2 separate regions of the Homo sapiens genome follow, and region 1 is linked to region 2. Evidence: promoter capture Hi-C in human tissues and cell types (Jung and others, 2019). All regions are on one chromosome and are shown on one strand. The core of a region is centred on a gene start or on the middle of the fragment in contact, and the rest is flanking DNA. Distances in the headings are between cores, read along the strand shown.

Region 1 (6,675 bases), core at 3,365-5,864, 330 kb after region 2:
TGGTCAACATAGTGAAACCCCCATCTCTATTAAAATAAAACACAAAAAACGAGCTAGGCGTGGTGGTGGGCACCTGTAGTCCCAGCTACTCGGGAGGCTGAGGCAGGAGAATCACTTGAACCCAGGAGGCGGAGGCTGCAGTGAGCCGAGATTGTACCACTGCACTCCAGCCTGGGCAGCAGAGTGAAACTCTGTCTCAAAAAAAAAAAAAAAGGTAAATTTTTTAAAACAGGAGGGTTTTTTGGCAAGTACATTAAATATAAATGGAATCTATACTCCAGTTAAAAGGCAAATGCTATGGACAGAATTAAAAATAATATCAATTATATGTTGCTTGTAAGAGACACCTCAAATAAAAGGCTACAGAAAGATTGAAAGGATGGAAAGAATTATGCCATGTAAATACAGGCATATCTCATTTTATTGCAATTTGCTTTATTGCACTTTGCAGATATTACATTTTTTACGAACTGAAGGTTTGTGGCAACCTTGCATCAAGCAAGTCTACCAGTGCCATTTTTCCAACAGTATGTGCTGTCTTCATTTCTTTCTGTCACATTTTGGTAATTCTCACTATGTTTCAAACTTTATTATTACTATTATATCTGTTATGGTGGACCGTGATCTTTGATCTTTGATGTTATTATTGTAATTGCTTTTGGGTACCATGAATTGCACTCATGCAAAGTTAATTGATAAATGTGTGTGATCTAACTGCTCCACCAATCAGCCCCCCATTTCTCTTCCTCTCCTCAGGCCTCCCTATTCTCTGAAACACAACAATATTGAAATAGACCAATTAAAAACCCTAAAACAGCCTCTAAGTGTTCAAGTGAAAGGAAGATTCCCATGTCTTTTACTTGAAATAAAAGCTCAAAATGGTTAAGCTTAGTGAGGAAGGCATGTAGAAAGCCAAGATGGGCTGAAAGCTAGGCCTCTTGAGCCAGTTAGCCAAATTGTGAATACAAAGGAAAAGTTCTGGAAGGGAATTAAAAATACTACCCCAGTGAACATATTAAAAATACTACCCCAGTGAACATAGGAATGATAAAAATAGTGAAACAGCCTTCTTGCTGATATGGAGAAAGTTTGAGTGGTCTGGATAGAAGATCAAACCAGCCACAAGATTCCCTTAAGCCAAAGCCTAATCCAGAGCAAGGCTTTACCTCTCTTCAATTCTCTGAAGGCTGAGAGAGGTTAGGCAGCTGCCAAAGAAAAGTTTGAAGTTAGCAGAGGTTGATTCATGAGATTTAAGGAAAGAGACTATCTGCATAACATAAAAGTTCAAGGTGAAGTAGTAAGTGCTGATGTAGAAGCTGCAGGAATTTATTTAGAAGATCTAGCTCAAGTAATTGATGAAGAGAGCTATATGAAACAACAGGTTTTCAGTGTAGATTAAATGACTTTCTATTGGAAGAAGATGTCATCTAAGACTCAGAGTTAGAGAGTAAAAGTCCAGGCTTGGCTTCAAAGCTTCAAAGGACAGGCTGACTCCCTTGTTAGGGGCTAATGCAGCTCATGACTCTAAGGTGAAGCCGATGCTCTTTGACCACTCTAAAAATTCTAGGGCCTTTAAGAATTATGCCAAATCTACTCTGCCTATGCTCTAGAAATCGAAAAACAAAGGCTGGATGACAGCACATGTATTTACAACATAGTCTACTGAACATTTTAAGCCCAGTCTGGAGACCTAGTGCTCAGAAAAAAAAAATAGATTCCTTTCAAAATATTACTGCTCATTGACAATGTACCAACAACCCAAGAGCTCTGATGGAAATGTGCAAGGAGATGAATATTGTTTTCATGCCTGCTAACACAACATCCATTCTGCTGTCCATGGAACAAGGAGTAATTTTGACTTCCAAGTCTTGTTACTTCAGAAATATATTTTGTAAGGCTGTAGCTGCCATAGATAGTGAATCTTCTGATGGATCTGGGCAAAGTCAATTGAAAATCTTCTGACCATTTTAGATGTCATTAAGAGAATTCATGGTTCATGGGAGGAGTTAAAAATATCAACATTAACAGGAATTTGAGGAAGTTGATTCCAATCCTCATGGATGACTTTGAGGGGCTCAAGACATCAGTGGAAGATGCTTGTTATAGATGAGCAAAGAAAGTGGTTTCCTGAGATGGAATCTACTCCTGTTGAAGATGCCGTAAACACTGTTGAAATGACAACAAACGATTTAGAATATTACATAAACTTAGTTGATAAAATGGTGGCAATTTTGATTCCAATTTTGAAGGAAGTCCTACTGATAGAGGCAAGAGGCAGACAAAGGCCTAGGCAGATAGGGAAGGGTCCCCGGAGAATCTCCAACTCGCCCCACAAGTGTTTACATCAGATGTTTTGTGCAGATAAGGGAACCTGCACAGGGGACTTGCCTGAGCATGCCCGCAGTGAACTGGAGGCCCACAAGCACTGGGGGAATGGGGTGGAGCCACCAGGAATTCGTGTCTTATGCAGGGGAGGAGCCTGGCTAAGGAGCCTAGATAAGGAGCAAAAAAATCCTGCATCACTACTGTGTGGGTAAAATGCTATCAAACAGCATTGCATGCTACAGAGGAATCTTTTGTGAAAGAAAGGGTCAATCAATGTGGCAAACATCATCTTTGTCTTATATTAAGAAATTGCTACAGCCACCCTAACCTTCAGCTACCACCACCTTGATCAGTCAGTTGCCATCAGCATGGAGGCAAGACCCCTCACCAGCAAAAAAATTACAACTTACTGAAGGCTGAGATGATCAATAGCACTTTTTAGCAATATAGTATTTTAAAATTAATGTATGTTGTTTCGCATATACATTCATTTAAAATGTACAATGTATGTACATTGTTTTTCTAGACATAATGCTATTGCTCACTTAATAGACCATAGAATAGTGTAGACATAACTTATATATGCACTGGGAAACCAAAAAATTTGTGTGACTTGCTTTATTATGATATTATTACTGCAGTAGTCTGGAACTGAATCTGCAATATCTCTGGGTTATGTATGCCTATTGTGCCTAATAGAAAATTGGTTGTACCTATAAAAATATTAGACAAAGTAGATGTTAAGGCAAGAAGTATTATAAGAGATAAAATGCATTAGTGAAAAAAGAATCAATTCAATGCTATCTTTAAAAGATAGTATTGAAATATACGAAGCAAAATGACAGAACTAAAAGGAGAAATACACAAATCTACCATCACAACCTGAGATTTTTAACACATTCCTCTCTGTAACTGATAGAACAAGCAGGGAAAAAAATAGAAAGGACATAGAAGCATTGAACAACACAATGAACAAAATTGACATGATACACATACAACACTACAGAATATATATTATTTTGCTGCAAAAAGAATATTTATTGATTATGTAGTGGGTCGTAAAGCACTTTTCAACAATTTTAAAGGACTGAAATTCTATAGAGTATGCCCTATCATCATAGTGGAATTAAGGAAGAAACCAAATGTCATCTATTATTTTGATATAAAACAACCACAACCAAAAGCCACAATCACAAATAAGTGGAAATTGGCCAATTTACTTCTCATCTATGTTGACAGAAAATGCTGGGAAAAAACATTGCATAATATTCAATACCCACTCATGACTGATTAAAATAGAAGGGAATTTCCTAAACTTAAGAAGATACATCTCTAAAAAACCTACAGAAGTATTATCGTTGAAGTCAGAGGCACAGCAAAGTTACGTGCTATCACGACTCTTATTCAGTGTTGCAGTTGAGAACCTAAATAGTGCAGTAAGACACTCTGGCATTAATATTGGAAAGGAAGAATTTAAATGGTCATGAAGGAATAGTCACAATTGTTAAATGTAGAGAATTCTATATTCTACTTCTAGAATATCCAAAAGAATAAACTGGACCGGGCTCATGCCTGTAATCCTAACACTTTGGGAGACCGAGGTGGGAAGATCGCTTGAGCTTAGGAGTTTGAAACCAGCCTGGGCAACATAGTGAAACCTTGTTTCTATTAATGCTATTTTAAAATGTAATAAAAAAGGGCTGGGTGTGATGGCTCATGCCTGTAATCCCACCACTTTGGGAGGGAGGCCGAGGTGGGTGGATTGCTTGAGGTCAGGAGTTCAAGACCAGCCTGATCAACATGGTGAAACCCCGTCTCTACTAAAAATACAAAAATTAGCCGGGCATGGTGGCGGGCATCTGTAATTCCAGCTACTCGGGAGGCTGAGGCATAAGAATCGCTTAAACCCGGGAGGTGTAGGTTGCAGTGAGCCAGGATAGTGCCACTGCACTCCAGCCTGGGTGACAGCATGAGACCCCATCTCAAAAAAGAAAATTTTAAAATAAAAGAAAATAAATAAATAAGTAAAATGTAATAAAAAAGAATCAACTGAAAAATATTAAAATTAATATATTTTAAAAGACAATTAGGTTTAATAAAAATAAATCAATAGCATTCCTACATAATAACAATGAGATATGAAAGCTAATGGGGAACTATTCCATTTGAATAAAATGAAAATAAAGCATGCAGAAACGACCCTCACAAAAATGCACAAAGCTTATATTTTATTTTAAAGAATGTATCTATTCTAAGAGACATAAACAAATGCTTCAATAGAGATACATAGATGAAAAGATTAGATTCTGTAATTCTTTGGAAATAAATCAGTATCTTTAACAAAATTCTAATAAGTCTCAAAAATATGTCTTTTGGAATGTGTTAAAATTATCTCAGAGTTCATCATGAAGAATATCCAAATGAGTGTAGCTAGAAAATTTTTGCAAAAGAAAGTCGTAAGGAGAGAACTGTCCTAACATATTAAAATACAGTATGAAATAAGATAGCTCAACATAGCAGAATAGTTTTGAAATAGAGTTATAATATTTAAGAAACCACAATAAGCCCCAAATCTTCTAAATCATTAAATGTAAAACAAACAAACAAAAACTACAAAATCTAGAAAGAAATGACACATAACAATTAGCTGACTTTTTCTTTTTTTGTTGTTTTTTTGACACGGGGTCTCACTGTTGCCCAGACTGGAGTGGAGTGGTGCCAGCTCGGCTCACTGCAACCTCTGCCTCCTGGATTGAAGCGATTCTCTTGCCTCGGCCTCCCGAGTAGCTGGGATTACAGGCATGTGCCACCATGCTTGGCTAATTTTTGTATTTTTAGTAGAGACAGGTTTTTGCCATGTTGGCTAGGTTGGTCTTGAACTCCTGGCCTCAAATGATCCATCCTCCTTGGCCTCCCAAAGTGCTGGAATTACAGGCATTAGTCACTTTGCCTGGCCTTGACAATTAGCTGATTTCTGAAAGAAAAAGTAACTTCTAAGAAATAAAGCAGTGGAAAAAAACTCCAAGAAAAATATTTGACTACCTAATAATTCAAAAATCATTGCATATCAAAAAATGTTATATGCAAAGTTAGAAGGCAAACAAGCTGGAAATACATTAGCAAAAAGCATTATAGATAAAAATCATACCCTAAATGAAGAACATATAATAAGAGGTGTGCCAACACTATATTAGAAAGAGGTCAAAGAAAATAAAAGATTTTTTTATAGTGAAATGTTCAAATTTAATTTATATTTCCTGGAGAAATATAAATGGGGTTTCATTTTTGCCAATAAAATTGGCAAAGATTTTTAGGGTAATTCAATGCCCATTGTTAGTGATAATGGGGAGAAAGACTGGAAAGATAAAAACCCAAGTGCTTTTTGTTTCCTTGTGTTGTTCTGATCTGTGTTTTTCTGTATAGAGCGCTATACCTGATTTTATCAGATATTCTTACCTGGCCCACCTGTTTTAATATCAACCTGAGTTTATCTTTATCAAATTGCATTATAAGTGTATACTTTCTTTCTTCCTAGTTAGATCAGAAGGGACCATTTATTCTATATCCTCAGTGTGTATAAGTGACACTTTGTAAATATTGATGAATAGATGTGGTTGAATTGAGTATGCAATGCTCTTACTATCCGAGTAAGATAATGGTTAAATGAATTTTGATATATTTACCTGATAGGTTATTATGCAATACTTTTTTTTTTTTGAGATGGAGTTTCTCTTTTGTTGCCCAGGCTGGAGTGCAATAGTGTGATCTCAGCTCACTGCAACCTCCGCCTCCTGGGTTCAAGCTATGCTCCTTCCTCAGCCTCCCAAGTAGCTGGGATTACAAGCATGCACCACCATGCCCAGCTAATTTTGTATTTTTAGTAGAGATGGGGCTTCCCCATGTTGGTCAGGCTGGTCTCGAACTCCCCACCTCAGGTGATCCGCCTTCCTTGGCCTCCCAAAGTTCTGGGATTACAGGCGTGAGCCACCGTGCCTGGCACTTACATATCAACCTTTTGAAAAAGATTTTTAGGGTAGAAAATCAGTTTTCTTAGGTCAATCTGACAGAAGTTTAATCTAAAAAAAATCAACTGGGCAATATTTTTAAACATACAATTATAATAAAAGTATACTTTGTAAATATATATATATATGAAAAAGATAGATTCACTTATTTTTAGAAGCTAGGTCTTTCAAGTGCTGTAAGCTGCCAACATTCTCATTCGTGTTAAATACTTACAGGCTTCAAGGGACTTGTTTTAGCAAACAAACAAACAAAAAAGTAGGCCGAGCATGGTAGCTCATGCTTGTAATCCCAACACTTTGGGAGGCTGAGGTGGGCAGATGGCTT
Region 2 (6,534 bases), core at 650-3,149:
CCTTGAGACTTCTTCAGTTCAGCTTGTTAAAGTGCCATATTTTGGGGTTATTGGTTTCTGAACCAGATTTTATGTCAGTAAACATGTATTCCTTATGTTTAAAAGAATGCTTATTTAGGCCAGGCATGGTGGCTCACGCCTGTAACCCCAGCACTTTGGGAGGCTGAGGCAGGCAGATCACCTGAGGTTGGGAGTTTGAGACCAGCCTGACCAACATGGGGAAACCCTGTCTCTACTAAAAATAGAAGAATTAGCCAGGTGTGGTAGTGGGCGCCTGTAGTCCCAGCTACTGGGAGGCTGAGGCAGAATTGCTTGAACCCGGGAAGTGGAGGTTGCAGTGAGCCAAGATCTCGCCATTGCACTCTGGCCTGGGTGACAGGGCAAGACCCTGTCTCAAACAAACAAAGAAAAAATTCTTTTAGTTTGATCTCCTTCATTTCATTACTCCCTTGAATCAGGCATTTAGGATTTAGGATTTCCCATTCCTCAAACTCTTCCTAACTCTGGTCCTCCTGGATTTGTCCTTATTTTGGGTGTCACAAGTTCGCGTGGCTTTACCTATCAGCTCCCATTTACAGAGCATTAATTATCTTCTGAACTCAAGGTAGCAGTTATGAATTTCTTTACCGAAGAGGACAAGGAGGCTCAGAAACATTGACTGGATTCTCCCAGGAGGAAAAGAGACCATGCATCACGCAATGTTTACTAACATTTAAAAATAGTTACAAATGTTTACAAATATTAATTCATTTAATCTTCACAGAGAGGAAGGGACTTATTTTTAGCCTTATTTTTCAAATAAGGAACTGTGGCCCTGGAAAGGTTCTATCTTGCAGGGGCTCCTGGGGCTGGTAATTGGTGGAGCCCAGATTCCAACACAGGTATTCTGGCTTCAGAGCTAAGGTTTTAATCACTGCTTTGCTGTCTTGTATTCTTAATAGTAGTAAACATTTTTAAATAGTGGTTGTTAATGATATTTTACTTTTAACTTTAATTTTATTTTTAAAAATGAAACGGGCGGGGCGGGCAGGGGGTCATCTCAATATGTTGCCCAGGCTGATCTCAAACTCCTGGGCTCAATCGATCCTCCTGCCTCGGCCTCCCAAAGTGGTGGGATTACAGACGTGAGCCACTGCGTTCGGCCAGTGATATTTAATATAATACTAAAAATGTTATCAACAATGGTTTACATTGTCCAGAGCTTTTTATTAAGCATTTTCACTTAGATCATTTTTGGAAACTCATTTTGCAGAGAGAAGAACTGAAGCTGAAAAATCTACCTGCCTAAGGACTCATAACTTGTAAGAATAGTTGTGAAACCTCACTGGAGGAACTGCAGATTCATTATTTTTCTTAATAACACACTATAAAGAATAATAAAAGTGCTTCGCATTGCCTAGAGCTTCACAAGGCCACTTTATACACATTTTACAATGGGTACCGTCTCAGAGAGGCCAGCAACTCGTCCAACACAGCACTGCAAGTAAGAAGTAGGAAAGTTATTGTTTTGCTTAATAATAAGGCCTTACGCTTCAGGGCTAAAGAAAAGCCTTTTCTTACAGAAATTAAACTCCAATTACAGAAAGGTGTGAAGTTCAGTAAGGCCCTGGGGCAGGTTATCCTACAGCTTTTGGCACCGCAGGCACCGCCCGGCGAGTTCCGGCCTCCAGGCACCTGGGCAGGTGGGCGTTGGGCGGGCTGCGGGCTGACCTGGGCCGCCCCGCCCCCACCCCGCCCCAGCTGTCCCCGGGCTGCTCCGAGAGGACCCCGGGCCCACCTTACCCCACCTCACCCCACCTCCACCCCTGGAGCGCGTCCCGGAGCGGGCGGGCGGCCGGCGGGCCAGGCCCCTCCCCGGCGCCGAGCCGCGGCCGCGCGGAGGAAGCGAAGGAGGCGGGAGCGGAGACCTCGCTGCGCTCATGGCGTCGCCCGGGTGAGTGCCGCCTCGCAGGCCCTGCGCCCCCGCGGCTGCCGGCAGGAACGGGAGCGGGACCCGGAGCGGCTCTGGCCTGCGGGCTCTGGTCTGGGATGCGGCCCGGACCCGGCCAGGGGCGCCCCCGCCCGCCAGGCCCACCAGGCCCACGGCCCGCTCGCGCCGACCTTGGGCGGACCGGCCGCGCGGGCGTGGGGGGCGGGCGGGGGCGCCGGCGGAGGACAGCGGTCCCCCGGGATGCGGGGGTCCGGGTACGCGGGCCTAGGGGATCCGGGGAGGGCGCGAGGCCCGGAGGTGCCCGGGGCGCGGCGGGAGCGAGGGCCCGGCGAGCGGCTGGGGAACCGGGGTGCGGGTCCTCGCCGCGGCCCGGGGCAACCCGCGGAGGCCTGGAAATGCTTCGCTCCGGCGCCTGGTATCGATGTTCCTGGGTTTTAAACTTGCTCGCGTTGGGAGTGGACGCTTGTTTGCCGCGTCGTTGAGACGTACCCAGAATGTCAGGATCCGGGCAGATGCAGACCCTTTGCTGACAGCCGGAGAGCCGCTCCGGGATCTCCTTGGTCGGGGCCATTGCCTACCGGCCTGCCTTGGGGTGGCTGCGCTTATTTTGATATTACCTCTTTTCAACTTTTTTGATTTAAATGTTATTCCTTTTAGGAAATGATGGCGACACATATAGTTTGTAATTTTTGAGAAAAAATTCTCACTTGGCAAACTAAAACCTCAGTAATTCATTATTTTTTTGTTTTTTGTTTTGATAATTTTACTAGTACTGAAATTTGGGAATGACAGTCCAACACTTTCATTTTACAAAGAAAGAAATTAGGCTCAAGGTCATCGCTTTAGTTGTTAAAATTCTTCTTTGACTGTTACCCATCATTCAGAGGGTCTTGGATCTAGTGGCTGTGATAGCCATTCAGAACAGTTCCCAAAGAGCTTTACAGGTGTGTGTTCAGTGGTAGGGGTGGGGAGGGGACGGTGCTAAGGGGCCGGGATCATGGATTTCGTGCCTCCTCCAGATGAGGCCTGAGCCATGCCCTGGGGTGATTTGGCTCAGTACAGTGGGCCTGAATGAAGCAAGCTGAATTTGAACCCCGCCTGCTGTCTTTCTAGGCTTTGGGGCAGTGGTCATTTCCGGGACCAGGCCTTTTCATTGCCAGCTGACTACCCAGCACTTTGAGCTCATGAATAGAGTAAGCAGGGAACCATCCCTGGGAAGGCCAGGCTGATTGACCTAGGGGTTCAAGGTCCTGCAGCATTCCTTTCCCCCTTGTCAGGAAAGGGTGGGCAGAGCCTCCTGGAGGCAATGTTGAGGGTGGCTGAACCTGTGTGGGGCTGCCCTGAACGAAGCTTTAAAAAAAAAAAAAATAGTGGTGCATTTGGTGCCCAAGTACACTACTTTGTAGACATGGGTCAGAGGTGGACTTAATGCTTCACTGGTGTTTCTGTGAGCCAGTAGGGCTTAAACTGTGTCCCTGTAGTTGGTGACATTTGGTATTTGCGGTTGTGATTATTTGTGTGACCCCCATGAGTCTGCAGTTTGTAATCTATAATTTTCTGCGGGATATCCATTGCAAAAGCTGAGGTCTCAAAACCTTTAGTATACAAGTCATGCACCACAAAATGACAGCGGAGGACCACGTTATATGACAGTGGTCCCATGCACAAATACTTATCATTGTGTTAGTTGCCTACAGTATTCATACTGTAACATGCTGTACAGGTTTGTAGCCTAAGAGCAACAGGCTGTACCATATTGCCTAGGTGCATAGTACACCTTACGATGTAGGTTTGTGTAAGTTTGCCCTATGATGCTCACACAAGGACCAAATTGCCAAATGACACATTTCTCAGAATGTATCCCTGTTGTTAAGTGACTCATGACTGTTGCTTTATTTCATTTTGTGGGGTAAGCTATGCACATATTATGTACACTGGCAGACATAGCTCCTAAGTGTCCACTTCTACAGGCTTCCCTGGTAGATCAGAGTCTAGCTAGGAAGACAGTGCTTTCTGAGACCCTCAGGGCTATCTCAGTCAGCCAGCTAGCAAACATTTAAGCTACTGCACTAGGTATCTTAGGGAGCAAGTCCACAGATAAAGGGCAGGGATGGGAAGGGACTGGTGATCTGGACTGGGCTAGTCATAGAGGAGTCTCCAAATTGATGTTTTTATTAAGTGACAATCTCCATGAGTTGGGAAGGAAAGAAGAAACGCTGACCATTTTTGAGGACCTTATGAATATGCCAGGCATTGTGCTAAATAAAGGAAATGGCAATCAAAGGATATGAAGGCATCAAAGGAAAAGATGTGTTTGAGAAATGCCCCATGGCCCAGTGTGTTTGGAGCTAAGTGGAGACAAGTTCAGAGGATGAGACTGGGACCAGATGATGGGACCTGGTCCCGTTTGTGGACTCACTGCCCACCACTCGCTGAAGGTAAATGAAACTATTTGCATTGGTGGAGCTCTCAGAGAATCAATGTGACAGCAGTATAGAGACGGCAGAGAGGGCAGAAGACAGGGAGCAGCTCATGCTGCCATCTCCCCTCTTTCGAACAGGCCTCACTCAACAGCTCATCTCTTGTCTTTGCCCCTTGCTTGGCTGTCTCACAACTGCCCAGATCTTCCTTGTCTGCCAGCTCCTCTGCCTGCTCTTTCACTGTTGGGGTTTCCTTGGGCTCTATAATCCATCTCCGCTAGTCCCAACACATGTTCTCTGCATGGTCACATCTGTTTTAGTGGCTTTAACTGTTGTCTGAATCAGAGGTTCTTAACTTAGGCTCCATGATTCATGGATGGGCTTCTGGGGGTCCCTTTGTTCTCTGAAATTGTATGCAGCATTGGGAGTAGTGTGTAATTTTCCTGGGCACAAGGTCTGTAGCTTTCAACAGATTTTCAAAGGGGCTCTTATCCTTAACAATGTTACAACTATTCATCCTAAATTTCCAGATTTTCATTTCCAACTACACTAGATACAGCTCCTCAAGTTTCTTTAACCTGGGTTAGCTGTGTGAAGTCTATATTTTTCAGATTGTTACTGATGGATAATTTGAAAAACAATAAATAAAGATCAAGTATAATTGGCTTTACATAGACCACCGATCTTAAAATCTTAAAAAGATTTTAAATAGTCACTTATTCTTATCAGAGTGACAGCTTTACAGAAACAACTAGCATCCCTCCTCCCTCCCATCTGAGTTTGGGGGGGTACCCTGACAGATGTTTTCCTTTGCATTTACATACTAAGTTTGTTCCTTGCTCTGTTTTTACATAAATGCTATCATACTGTTCTGCAGCTTGCTTATTTGCCCAACAATATGCCTTGAAATTCTTTCCATGCCAGAACAAGGAACAGATCCACATACATTTGTTTTTTGTTTTTGATTTACCTACATTTTTTTTCTCTCTTTCTCTTTCTCTCTCTCTCTTTTTTTTTTTTTTAATAGCAGTGGGGGTCTCATTATGTTGCCTATGTTGATCTTGAACTCCTGGGCTCAAGCCATCCTCCTGTCTCGGCCTCCCAAATTGCTGGAATTATAAGCACATTACACAGTGCCCAGTCTACCTACATTTTGACAGACATATAATATTCCATGGCATGGTTACATTATTCAGTTAAGAATGTTCCCGGTTTTCTCTAAGATAATGCTGCCCATCTGTGTCTCACTCTGGACATGTAGAGTACCTGCAAAGACTTGGACTGCTTGAGCAGAGGGCCTGCTTTTGTTTTTTGTTCTTCCTGCCTGTTGTAACTTGATGCTGCCAAATGATCCTCTTAAATGATTGTACCACCTTCCCTGCCACCACCAGATTTTAAGGATTCTCTGTACCTCCCAACACATGATGACATCATACATGAAAAGTTTTGCCTGCCTGATGGAATAATTGAGTCAAGAAATAGGATGCTAATGGCATCTTCGCTTACCCGGTCTTTAAAGATAGAAACTTCATCCCTGACCTCTGTATTCCCTTAGAAAGATTCCGCTTTTTTCTTTGATCCAGTGGGTAACAGCAAGTGAGTAAGTTGATCTCCATAAGTAACTCTCACTCCTCAGCGCTTTGTTTCAGAAAATATGGTCCCTTTCTGGCCAGGAGAAATGGAGTAAGACCTGCCCTAGAAGGGAGGAGCTCGGACACAGAATGGGTGGAAGGACCTGTGGGGTCCGAGTGGGGCTGTGGAGAATGCTTAGCTATATAGAGGTGGGACTCATGGTAGTGGATGAGGTGACTGAGTGATTGAAACCCAGGAATGTGTGGCTAATTGGGGTAGAGGAGAAGCCATCACTGGACGACAAACCCAAGGCCAGTTGTTCCTCTGTGGACTGAGTCCTTGCCTGAGGAAGGAGGGCACACGCACCTTGGCACCTGCCCCTCTTCTTCCCCCCTCCTCCTCCCTCTCCACCATCTTCTCCTCCCCCTTCCCTTCCCCTCCTCCTCCCTCTCCTCCTCCCTTCTCTGTTCTGTCTCCGTTCCTCCCCTCCACTCCTTTTCTTTCCTCTCGCCTGCTCCTCTCTCCTCCCCAGTGACCTCCTCAGGTCCTTTCCCCAGCCCACTGTTCCTTTAAACATTCAGCTGGAGACCTCATCCACCCTCCTGGCTGCTC

What was found. Contacts are between HindIII fragments. The study calls those that stand out against the background at their distance.
Region 1: a contact is called between a fragment that was not itself captured here and the fragment with the promoter of URGCP-MRPS24 in region 2, in 1 of the 25 tissues and cell types used here (thymus).

The regions. Positions count from the first base shown.
Region 1 is chr7:43,573,370-43,580,044 of GRCh38, reverse strand. No RefSeq gene overlaps it. Among named protein-coding and RNA genes, the nearest start is that of STK17A, 6.4 kb to the left of the region's middle. RefSeq lists enhancers at 2,084-2,585, 1,717-2,916. The HindIII fragment of the contact is 9,039 bases long and covers 95-6,675 here.
Region 2 is chr7:43,901,961-43,908,494 of GRCh38, reverse strand. URGCP-MRPS24 (URGCP-MRPS24 readthrough) reads left to right here and starts at 1,899. Exons shown (of 7, transcript NM_001204871.2): 1 at 1,899-1,933. The coding sequence starts at 1,920. URGCP (upregulator of cell proliferation) reads left to right here and starts at 1,899. Exons shown (of 6, transcript NM_001077663.3): 1 at 1,899-1,933. The coding sequence starts at 1,920. RefSeq lists silencers at 1,474-1,633, 1,694-2,123. The HindIII fragment of the contact is 12,880 bases long and covers 1-6,534 here.